Regions from separate parts of the Homo sapiens genome. Here regions 2 and 3 are each linked to region 1. Evidence: promoter capture Hi-C in human tissues and cell types (Jung and others, 2019). All regions are on one chromosome and are shown on one strand. Each heading gives the region's core, a stretch centred on a gene start or on the middle of the fragment in contact. The rest is flanking DNA. Distances are from core to core; before and after follow the strand shown. Region 1 holds the start of CCL20 (C-C motif chemokine ligand 20). Region 2 overlaps DNER (delta/notch like EGF repeat containing). Region 3 overlaps PID1 (phosphotyrosine interaction domain containing 1).

What was found. The method cuts DNA at HindIII sites, captures the fragments that hold promoters and counts their contacts. A contact is called where the count stands out against the background at its distance.
Region 2: a fragment that was not itself captured here is called in contact with the fragment with the promoter of CCL20 in region 1 in 1 of the 25 tissues and cell types used here (heart right ventricle).
Region 3: a fragment that was not itself captured here is called in contact with the fragment with the promoter of CCL20 in region 1 in 1 of the 25 tissues and cell types used here (heart left ventricle).

What each region holds. Positions count from the first base shown.
Region 1 is chr2:227,811,780-227,815,530 of GRCh38, forward strand. It overlaps CCL20 (C-C motif chemokine ligand 20), which reads left to right and starts at 2,063. Exons shown (of 4, transcript NM_004591.3): 1 at 2,063-2,208; 2 at 3,675-3,751. The coding sequence starts at 2,133. The HindIII fragment of the contact is 20,627 bases long and covers 1-3,751 here.
Region 2 is chr2:229,432,382-229,436,132 of GRCh38, forward strand. All of the region lies in intron 8 of DNER (delta/notch like EGF repeat containing), which reads right to left. Among named protein-coding and RNA genes, the nearest start is that of PID1, 160 kb to the left of the region's middle. The HindIII fragment of the contact is 3,048 bases long and covers 460-3,507 here.
Region 3 is chr2:229,163,534-229,167,284 of GRCh38, forward strand. All of the region lies in intron 1 of PID1 (phosphotyrosine interaction domain containing 1), which reads right to left. Among named protein-coding and RNA genes, the nearest start is that of PID1, 110 kb to the right of the region's middle. The HindIII fragment of the contact is 8,857 bases long and covers 1-3,751 here.

The DNA of each region.
Region 1 (3,751 bases), core at 813-3,312:
TTTTCTTTTGACACATTGTTGTTGTTGTTGTTGTTTTTTCCTTTGAGATGGAGTCTCTGTTGGCCAGGTTAGAGGGCAGTAGCGTGATCTCGGCTCGCCGTAACTTCTGCTTCCTGGGCTCATGCGATTCTCCTGCCTCAGCCTCCCAAGTAGCTGGGATTACAGGCATGGACTACCACACCCGGCTAATATTTGTATTTTTAGTAGAGACAGGGTTTCACTATGTTGGCCAGTCTGGTCTCGAACTCCTGACCTCAGGCAGTCCACCCACCTCGGCCTCCCAAAATGCTAGGATTACAGGCATGAGCCACCACTCCTGGCCAGACACATTGGTTATTTAGGAATATGTGGTTTCCTTTCTGTCTGTTACTGATTTCTGATTTAATTCCATTGTGGTTTGAATGTATACTTTATGTGATTTCAGTCGGTTTACATTTACTGAGACTTGTTCCATAACCTACCATATGCTTTATCCTAGAGAACATTCCATGTGCAACTATTCTGTTGATGTTGGATAGAGTAGTCCTTCGATGCCTGCTAAGTCTATTTGGCTTATAGTGTTGTTCAAGTCTTCTATTTTCTTGTGGATCTTCTGCCTAAATTTTATTAATTAGTGAAAATGTGGTACCAAAGCTGTCAACTTTTATTGTTAAATTTCCTATTCTGCTGGGCACGGTGGCTCATGCCTGTAATGAGGTCAGGAGTTCAGCCTGGGCAACATGGTGAAACCACGTCTCTACTAAAAATACAAAAATTCGCTGGGCGTGGTGGCACGTGCCTGTAGTCCCAGCTACTCAGGAGGCTGAGGCAGGCGAATCGCTTGAACCCAGGAGGCGGAGGTTGTAGTGAGCCGAGATGGTGCCACTGCACTCCAGCCTGGGCAACAAGAGCAAAATTCTGTCTCAAAAGAAATTATAATAATAAAATAAAATAAAATTTCCTATTCTTCCCTTCAATTCTGTCAGTTTTTGCTTTCTGTAGTTTGGGGTGCTACTGTTAGGTATATATATGGTTATAGGTTTTACATCTTCCCAATGGGTTAATTTTGTGTTACCATGAAAGTCCCTTTTTATTTCCGGTAACATTAAAAAAAAATCTATTTTGTCTGATATAGGCATCACCAACTCCAGTTCTCTTTTGTTTACTGTTTGGTATACCTTTCTTTTGATCCTTTTACTTTCAACCTATTTGGGTCTAGTGGAGAGTTCTTATACTGCCTTAGGTTAGGGATTCATATTACATTATCATCATTAGTACTGTTATTTGACATTTGCTGTGCTGACTAGCTACTGCTGATAGGTTTTCTTTCCTCAACAATTCTGAGGCTCTATATTGAGTTATATTAGTACATCATCATGGAGAGTTAAAGGTAGGTAAGGATTATTTTCTGAACTGCAATATTGATTAAAGCCATGTGAATGTATAAGATTCTTAGAAGAGTTGACATTAAATCAAGGTGAAGCTGAGGTTTGAGCCTTACTTAAAGGCTGATATTTTCCACTCTAACTGCGGACAGTACTGTAGCACTGTTATAGTACCTGCTCTGAATGTTAGTCTAGCAACTCAGGGTCTTCTTCATGACAGCTGAACCTCAACCATGTGATGGTAAATGTGTAGCAGAGTATGCCTGGCATCCCACCTGCTCCTCCTCCCCCTCCTCCTTGACTGGTTCTGGAAAGCAAATAGGGTGTAACAATAGGAGTTCTGGAATGTTCCTGTGTGGGGCTGACCTTTGTATCGCTGTTAATCCTCTATTTTCAGACACAAAAATGATTAAGTTAAAACTGGATGAAAGTCTTTTCTGGGTCACAGGGCTGAGCTGCTTTTGCTCTTTGCAAATACAAAGAATTTAACAGGATTCTCCCCTTCTCAACTTCCTGTCCCCCACCCTGACCTTCGCACCTTCCCAATATGAGGAAAAAGCAGGAAGTTTTCCTTGCGGGTTTTTTTTATGATGACATGATGGGGCCAGTTGATCAATGGGGAAAACCCCATGTGGCAACACGCCTTCTGTGTACATTCCCAATATTTGCTATAAATAGGGCCATCCCAGGCTGCTGTCAGAATATAACAGCACTCCCAAAGAACTGGGTACTCAACACTGAGCAGATCTGTTCTTTGAGCTAAAAACCATGTGCTGTACCAAGAGTTTGCTCCTGGCTGCTTTGATGTCAGTGCTGCTACTCCACCTCTGCGGCGAATCAGAAGGTAAGTGTCGCTCTTTCCGCTAGCACAGAAGAAAGACTATTTTCATTTTCCTTTTAGCCTTGAGCTCAACTGGGGGTCCCTAAGGGATGGAAAACTGTTAGGAAGTATACAAGAGGTAGTGATGGAAGTTGTCTGCCCATGGTGGAGTGGAGGAGAGAAGAGTTACTGCTGCGGATCAGGCTTTCCTCTCTGCTGTCAATCTCAGCAGATTTGGGGAGTGGTGGGCTCTTAGAGATCCCTAAACTTCAGGATAAAGCCAAAGTGATGTTTCTGGGAGTGATATAAAGTGTGTAATGTTACCAGTAGATGGGGCCATTTTGAAATGTAGAGAATCCTCCTGTGTCCCCAACTTTCGTACCTCCCAACTTAATAGTTTTGGTAAAGTTCAAAACTCATCCTTTAGAAGTAGATTATAATACCTGACATCAACATCCCCACAAGGCATGGGGGACATTGCTTGCCAACTTTAAAATAACATTAATCCCTTACCTTACAGCATGTTGTAATCTGACTCGGGAATGTCCAAGTATTGCTTTATTGCTCAATAGTCACACAACACTTTTAGCAACAGGTGCATTCCTAAAAATGCACATTGAATTTTTTTTTTTTTCTGAGGCAGGGTCTAACTTCATCACCCAGGCCAGAGTGCAGTGGCATGATTACAGCTCACTACAGCCTCAACCTCCTGGAGTCAAGTGAACCTCCAGTCTCAGCCTCTTGAATAACAGGGACCACGGCCGTGTGCCACTCACCTGGCTAATTTTTTTACATTTTTTTTTTTTTTGTAGAGACAGGGTTTCACTGTGTTGCCCAGGCTGGTCTCGAACTCCTGGAGGCAAGCAATCCTTCCTCCTTGGCCTCCCAAAGTGCTGGGATTACAGGCATGAGCCACCATGCCCAACCACATGTTGAACTTTTATGAACAAAATTAAACATTCCTATTAATTAATAGGACAATTTCAAAGTGTTTTCACTCCTATAAATCATATTTCCCTTTGTAGCTCTATTTCTCAATACTTAGTAGCCAGATAATAGATTAAAATCTGCCAATTTATTCATTTTCTGCTTTTGGAAGTTTATCTACATAAGGGTTCCTTCAAGCAGTAGGGAAGGGGCTGCTCATATTCTTGAATGATTATAGTGAACTGAAATGAAATATTGTCAATTTGTATTTCTTACTGAAGATATCCCACTTATGAGAAGTCCTGTGTTTCTCAATTCTATTATTGAACCAAAACTTCTCGGCACACAAACTGTTTTTTCAAAGAACTGTAAACTATGTTAGATTGGTTCTCAACGACCTTACAAAGGTTTCCAAGACATTGAAACTCCTCCTCTAAGTGGTTTATTCGTCATATACATGAGATTCACTAGATTTTTCACAACTTAAGGTAGTTTTATAATACCAATCACAGGATAAGTTTATTCATGTGGATCCAATACCTTTCACTTTTTTTTTTTTTTAGCAGCAAGCAACTTTGACTGCTGTCTTGGATACACAGACCGTATTCTTCATCCTAAATTTATTGTGGGCTTCACACGG
Region 2 (3,751 bases), core at 734-3,233, 1.6 Mb after region 1:
GGGGGAAAATCAAAGACTAAGACTCTATTATGGCACTTTGAAGAGAAAATAAAACCTAGATAATTACTTTTACACAAGTATGCATACTAACAAAGAGAAATTTTAAACGGTATAAAAGTATAGAAGAGTTTTAAAATGTTTATTTCCTTTTAATTTATTTCACAATCAATTGGTTAAATTTGGTTTAGTTGACCTCTTAGTTACTAATAGACATTCATTTGAGGTATCCGCACTCATCACACTTGGGTCTCAGTGCAGTCCCCAGACCAGCAGCATCAACACCACCTGGGAACTAGTTAGAAATGCGTGTTCTCAGGTCACACTCAAGACCCGCTGATTCAGGGACTCTAAGGGTAGGGCCCAGAACTCCATGACTTAAACCCTCTAACATGGTTCTGATGAGCACTCAAGTTTGAGAGCCACTAAGCTATAGAATAGAAAAGTATACAACGTCTCCCACAATCTCTGACTCTCACAAATGCGGGGAAATGGTAGGGGTTGTCCAAGGAAAATGCTACATATAGTGTGGTTATGGGATTTTTTGTGTTTTGTTGTTGTTGTTGTTGTTGTTGTTTTGAGATGGAGTTTCACTCTGTCGCCCAGGCTGGAGTGCAAAGGCGCAATCTAGGGTCACTGCAACTTCCGTCTCCTGAGTTCAAACAATTCTCCTGCCTTAGCCTCCTGAGTAGCTGGGATTACAGGTGCCTGCCACCGTACCTGACTAATTTTTGTAATTTTAGGAGAGACAGGGTTTCACCATGTTGGTCAGGCTGGTCTCGAACTCCTGACTATGTGATCCGTCCGCCTTGGCCTCCCAAAGTGCTGGGATTACAGGCGTGAGCCACCGTGCCCAGCCGGTTTTGTATTTTAACAGCCATGGCATCTCCTAAGCGCGTTTAACTAATCCAACCGCAAAACATATGGTCAGAACATGTACCAGCTATGGGCATATAAATAAACCAACAGTGAAACATATAGTCAAATGATCTACCAGCCATCGGCACATGGACTAAAGGAAGCTACCCTCCTCTCGAGGTTTACATAAGGGAAAAAAGTAACACAAAGGAATCCCAAAGTGACAACAAATGACGTATTGGAAAAGAAAGGCCAGAATGAGGGAAAGTAATAAGGATATAGCTGTGGCACAATGTGTTCTAGTTCCTCACTGTATGACTAGGAGTCACACATGCCTAAGCGGAATGAGGATAAACAAGTTCATATTCAAATTCGTGAGGGCAATTTTTCCCACATCTCTGATCTAGCTTCCTTAACCCACAGGAATAATATTTTTGCAGAAAGGAATGTCAGAAAATGGAAGATATTAGAAGTATTTAATACAGCACCAAGATTAAGATTTTGAGTAACATACAGACCAGTAGGTAATATTAAAAATAATATTATAGTTTTGTAAAGATTAAGTGTGTTTCAAATTGACTATCATATACTAGACATTTGTGAATTAGCTTTTTGCATTCCTAATTATCTTGCCGAAAATTTGCTCTGAAGGTAATTTATGTTGCTTATCTTTTAAAATATATTTTGAATAAAACATAAAAGCTCTACTTTAAAAAGGAAAGAAAGAAAAAAGCATAAACAATCTAAGGTAACAATTTTTGCAAACCAAAAATTGGGAACCATGATCTGACAAAGTTGCGCTGTTTCCAATTATATATCAGAGGTGGCCTCATAGATACATAGTTTGGTAGCAAAGTATTTGTGTGATGGAAAACAAAATACTGTGACTGGGATTATTCCAGAAAATTTTGGTACACGGAGTCCACAATGCAGACCACGATTATCTTTCTGGCTGTATTTACTTTCATTCCCCTATCACTGGGGACATTCACAGGCACAATGCAATCGTGTCATCCTCTAAGCTTTCTATTAGTCATTGCCATTCTCGAGTAAATATGCTAAATCCTAAATATTGTTAAACACCAGGGAAATTTCTCATGATCCTTTAAGAACAGTTTTAGAAGCACACACCTTCCACTTGGCCACTATCCCTAAGGGCTACAAATGCCCAAGGGCTGAAGCTGACAGTCAGGACTTCAGCTAAAGAATTTCATGGGGAAATTCAGCCTTGATGCAACTGGATTACAAAGAAAATTTCAAAATGTAAATAAATCAGAAATGACAACTCAATTATATGAGTAAATTCTGAATTCTCTTCCAACTTTCTTTATTAAATTAAGGATGCCTAAACACACAGCATTTGTTCATTTAAGAGTTGATAAAGCAGTGAAAAATCAGAAGTGTGTTTTTATTTGGTGACTTAAGATTCTAGGAGAATATATATGTTAATAACCTGAAGGGAAAAATGAAACTTCTTTGAAATAAAGCCAGGAACAAGGCTCAATCTATATGGAATTATGAGGTAAGTAAAGAAGTTTTCTCCTAGACATTCCTTATCACTTGAGTAGGCAAGTTCAGGGGACCTCACCATTTCTTTTCAAGCAACCAAAGATTAAACACTGTTTTTCAACTTTCTTTCTCCTCAAATCTGCTTACATATATAGAGACAATTTATATATATATATATATACACACACACACACACACACACACGTGCACACACACACACAGACACATCACATCACATTCTTCACATATTTAGGTTTAAGGTTATGGTAGATTGAAAAAAAAATAGCTACAAGTTCTGTGCAGCTCCTCCTATCAAGAAACAGAGTCTATAAGCTTGGCCCTGTGACTTGCTCATGCCACTGGGACATTGGCAAACAACAGAAGAAGCAGCTTTAAAGAGAGCATGCATATGGGACCTTGTGTTCTGTTGCTGCTTTCGGAACCCTACAATCGTGGGAAGAAGCCCCGACTGGTCTGCTGGATGAAGAGAGACATGTGGCTTAGTTGCCCCCATCACTCCAGCTAACTGCCAGCAATATAAGAGGGGTCATCCAGGACCCGGCAGTCCCCAGCTGGCTTGCCAGCTGACCACAAAAGCATGAGTGGGCACATGGAATAGAGAAGAGACATCCCAGCTAAACCCTGCCCAAATTATCAACCCACAGAATCACAAACAATAAGTGGTTTTCTTAAGCCATCAAGTCTTGGAATGTTTTGTTACACAGCAATGACTAACTAATACAAAGGTTGATTGCCAGGTACAATGTCTAACTTAAATAAATAAAACCACAAAGATAAACTTTTAGGCATCAGAGACCTGGTAAAAAAGGTATTTTTACGGAGTAGTAAAGAGGAGTCTTCTCAAAATAGTACCACCAGGTACTACATATTCCTTAGTTTAGACCTACTTTAATTGGGCTTATCCAATCTAAAAGCAACACCTACTAATGAATTGAACCTAGGACATTCACTCTGATCTGAGGCATCAGAAACCATCTGGTAGAGTAAAATTGAAACATGATCTTGGTAATCATCAACATATCATTAAGACTTCAGTCCAACCAACTAAGGACCTCTTTAGGCAATTCCTATAAAACCAAGTGGGATTGTAATTTTTTAATGATTTTGGCAATATGTTTATTCACAATATAAACTGTTTGGTAAAAGATAAACATGTGCCTAACAAGTTAACAACATTTGATTGTGATTTTTTTTAACTTTTATTTTAGGTTCAGGGATACACAGGCAGGTTTTTCATATAAGTAAATTACATGTCTCAGGGGTTTGGTGTACAGATTATTTTCTCACCCAGGTAATAAGTATAGTACACAGTAAGTAGTTTTTCGACCCTCATCCTCCTCCCCACTCAAGCAGGATCCAGCGTCTA
Region 3 (3,751 bases), core at 845-3,344, 1.4 Mb after region 1:
TGATTATGTGGGAGAGGAACCAAAATAACTCCGTGCCCAAGGAGTATGCAAAAGCCCCCAAGGCTTGTGAAGGGCTCACTTACTCAGTGGGGAGAGAGACAGAGGGAGAGAGAGAGAGTGTGTGTGTGTGTGTGTGTGTGTGCGTGTGCGTGTGTGTGTGTGTATACTCACTAATTCATTGATTTTGTCACTGACTTGAAATACACACACACACGCACACACACAAATGTGTTATGTTCCTAGTTAAGTAGTTTCTGTCATCTTCTAAACCATTTTGCTATATGTAAACAGTTATTTTTCCATTTTTCTAACTGTGAACAGTTAAACAATTCATTGTTAAACATGGGTTACAAGCTGCCTCTAGGTAAGTTTTATTTAATTCACAGACTGCTTTGTTGTTAAAATTTGAAGTGGTTTTCAAAAATTGAGATACATACATAGCTGAAATCTATATTTCCATGTCTTTTGAAAAATCAGAAGTTCTGCAAAAGGAACATTCCCTCATGGTTAACAATTAGCTCCAGCTGACTGTTGCAACTGCCTTATTGACCTAGGGGCTTTCCTCTGCAACTGGCCATGGTCTCTGCCTGCCCTCCTGCCAACTTTCTCGTTTATACTAAACACCATTTGCTATTTTTATAGTCATTGTATGCCTTACCAAATTCACTCCCATACATTACTTGCTTGTCCCTTTTAGGCATTTGAATTTGCAACCCCTGATGTAAAACGCCAAATGCTAGGAGCACAGAACAAAAATTTCACCTACTCATGAAAAAAAAAAAATTCAAGTATAGCTGAATTGACTCCTACCTGTATTTAAATTATGAAAATTGAACTAAGAGGGTGTGAGTCAGTGAATGATAGAATAATAATATAACACAATATAAACAGGTCAACATGTCTGTCTGTCATTGCACTCAATGAGGATGGGACATGAACAAGTACTTAGAAATCTGCTCTTCTCTGAGTTATTCCCACATGCCCCTTGTGGTGTGAGTATCTTGTTGCACTGAATACAATTAAAATGCTAACAATCAATATTGTTTACTTCCACTTTTAATCAGGATGAATTAACATGAACAGGGATGACCCTCCTACTTAAAACAACCAGAAGTTAAGAAACAACAGTTTGTGACCCTGGGTATGAAGCAATGAAGGACAGTGGCCCCTGAGAGATGTGAAACAAATGAGGTAAGATGTACACCTGCCCAGCTTCCTGCCTTGAAACAGTTTGCAGGCTGCAGAGCAGGGAGGAGAAACACAAGCAGGGTGCAGCGGAATCCCTGAGCTAAGGAGACAGAGATGAAAGCCTGGGGGGACAAACAAGAGAAGAGAACTTCACAGAGAGAGAATTCTGTAAATTTTCAGAGGGTCTCCTTAAATATTCAGCTGACTACTGATCAGCATATGCATAAAAGGAAACTCAAGGCTGGACAACATCCACTGGAAAGAATAAGAGGTTAGAGTGCTGGTGCTCACACAGGGCCAGTTACATTGCCTGCTCGCATCAGCCAGACTGAAAAAACTCATGAGTCACAGAGCAATGAGTAGAGAAATAAAGAAGTTCTAGTGCCACTAGTGGGGAAATTAGCACTAGACTACATGTTGCTCTGGTCTCACCTACAAATCTTAAAAGGAAGATTCAAAGGATCAGATTGCTTCCAAGTAATTTAACAGAATCTAACAACAACAAAAAGTTGAAGAATATAGGAATACAAAAATATCCAGTATCCAATAAGGTAAAATTTAAATGACCTAACATCCAATCAAAAATCACCAGACAAGGCCGGGCATGGTGGCTCATGCCTGTAAACCCAGCACTTTGGAAGGCTGAGACAGGCAGACCGCTTAAGCTCAGGAGTTCAAGACCAGCCTGGGCAAGATGGTGAAACCCCATCTTTACTAAAATTACAAAAAATTAGCCATAGTTCCAGCTACTTGGGAGGCTGAGGTGGCAGGATCACTAAGCCCAGGAGTTCCAGGCTGCAGTGAGCTATGATCAAGCCACTGCACTCCAGCCTGGGTGACAGAGCGAGACCCAGTCTCAAAAATAAAAAAAAAAATTGTCAGACATGAGACATGCAAAAATGGAAGAAAATAAAATCCATGAGGGTTAATAAACCAGTTAATGAAAGCCTACCCAGAACTGACAACAATGTTATAATAAACAGGCAATGACCTTAAAACTATATTCAATGTTACACTGATGGTTTTAACCAGTGCAATAAGGCAATAAAAAGAAATAATAAGACTCCATATTGGAAAGGAAGAAGTAAAATTGTCTTTATTCATAGAAAATTTGATTATCTTTGTAGACAATCCAACAATTCTTTTAGATAACCTAAAAAAAAGCAAACTACTAGAATGGATGAGTTTAGCAAAGTTGAAGGACACAAAATCAATATACAAAATTCTATTGTTTTCTATTGTCTAGCAATGAAAAATTAGCAATGACAGCAGATGTCCTTATAAAAGACTTGTACACAAATGCTCACAGTAGCTATATTTTTAAGAGCAGAAAATTAGAAACAACCTAAATGTTTCTCATCAAGCGAATGGACAAACTGTGGTATATCCACACAATGGAATGCTCCTCAACAAAGTGAAAAGGAATAAACTACAGATGCACACTACAACATAAATTATAAAACAATTATCCTGAGAACACAAACAAAAAAAGAGAACATACTGTATGATTCCATTTATATAGCATTGTAGGAAATAGATCAATGGATAGTGACTGAGAGGAGATCAGTTGTTGCCTGGGGATAGTGAGGAACGAAGAGAGGAGAGTGAGGTACATGAAGAAAGCTTTGTGGCGATGGTCTCATGCAGGTTTACAAATATCCAAACCTACCAACTTGTGCACTTTACATATGCATGGTTTATTATATGTCGAGTATACCTCATTAAAATTATTTTTCAGAGAAAAAATAGTTTCAAGTAATATGGCCCTTTAATTCATTCAAATGGCTTCATCTGATTGCTCAATGCTAGAGGGAAAATTTGCTGAGTGGAACAGACTAAGAAATAAATTCTGACCTCTAACATGGTGCCTTCCTAAGAGATTCCCAAGTAAAATTTTGACTCTACATGATTTTAATCTCCATGCTGACTTTGAAACTGAACTGTTGCATTGATATTACTCCCTATGAAATTAATAGTCAATGTCCTTCTCCTTGGATAAATGGCTAATTCTAGGACTGGGGCAAGAAAAGCAAAAGATGATCCCAGGGCATCTTGTTGAGCTAGAAATGAAGATAGTGCTCATAAAATGATGAGGACTTGTCGGATGAACGCTGGGAATAACCTGAAATAGCTCTCAACTTGGCCAACATTAGACAATTTCAGTAACAATAAATAATGGTTGTAATGGATTATAACCCTAGACTAAAAAAAATATCAATGAACAGTACTGAAAAGAAAAGAAAGGAAGGGGAAGGGGAAGGGGAAGGGGAAGTGGAAGGGGAAGGAAAGGAAAGGAAAGGAAGGGAGAGAAAAGGAAGGAAGGAAAGAAAGGGAAAGAAGAAAAGAAGAAACGAAAGAAGGGAGGAAAGAAGAAACTCATCCTTACAGTAAAGTTATACTTTTATAAATATAGAAGAAATTATCAAAATCTAAAGTTACCATATTGCAAACACTATAGCAATGTTTCAGGCATGAATCATTGTTTAAGGCTAAAATTAGTGGGCTAAATATGATGAGAATGAAGATATTTATATTGTCTCAAAGAATCTTTCCAGAAGATAAT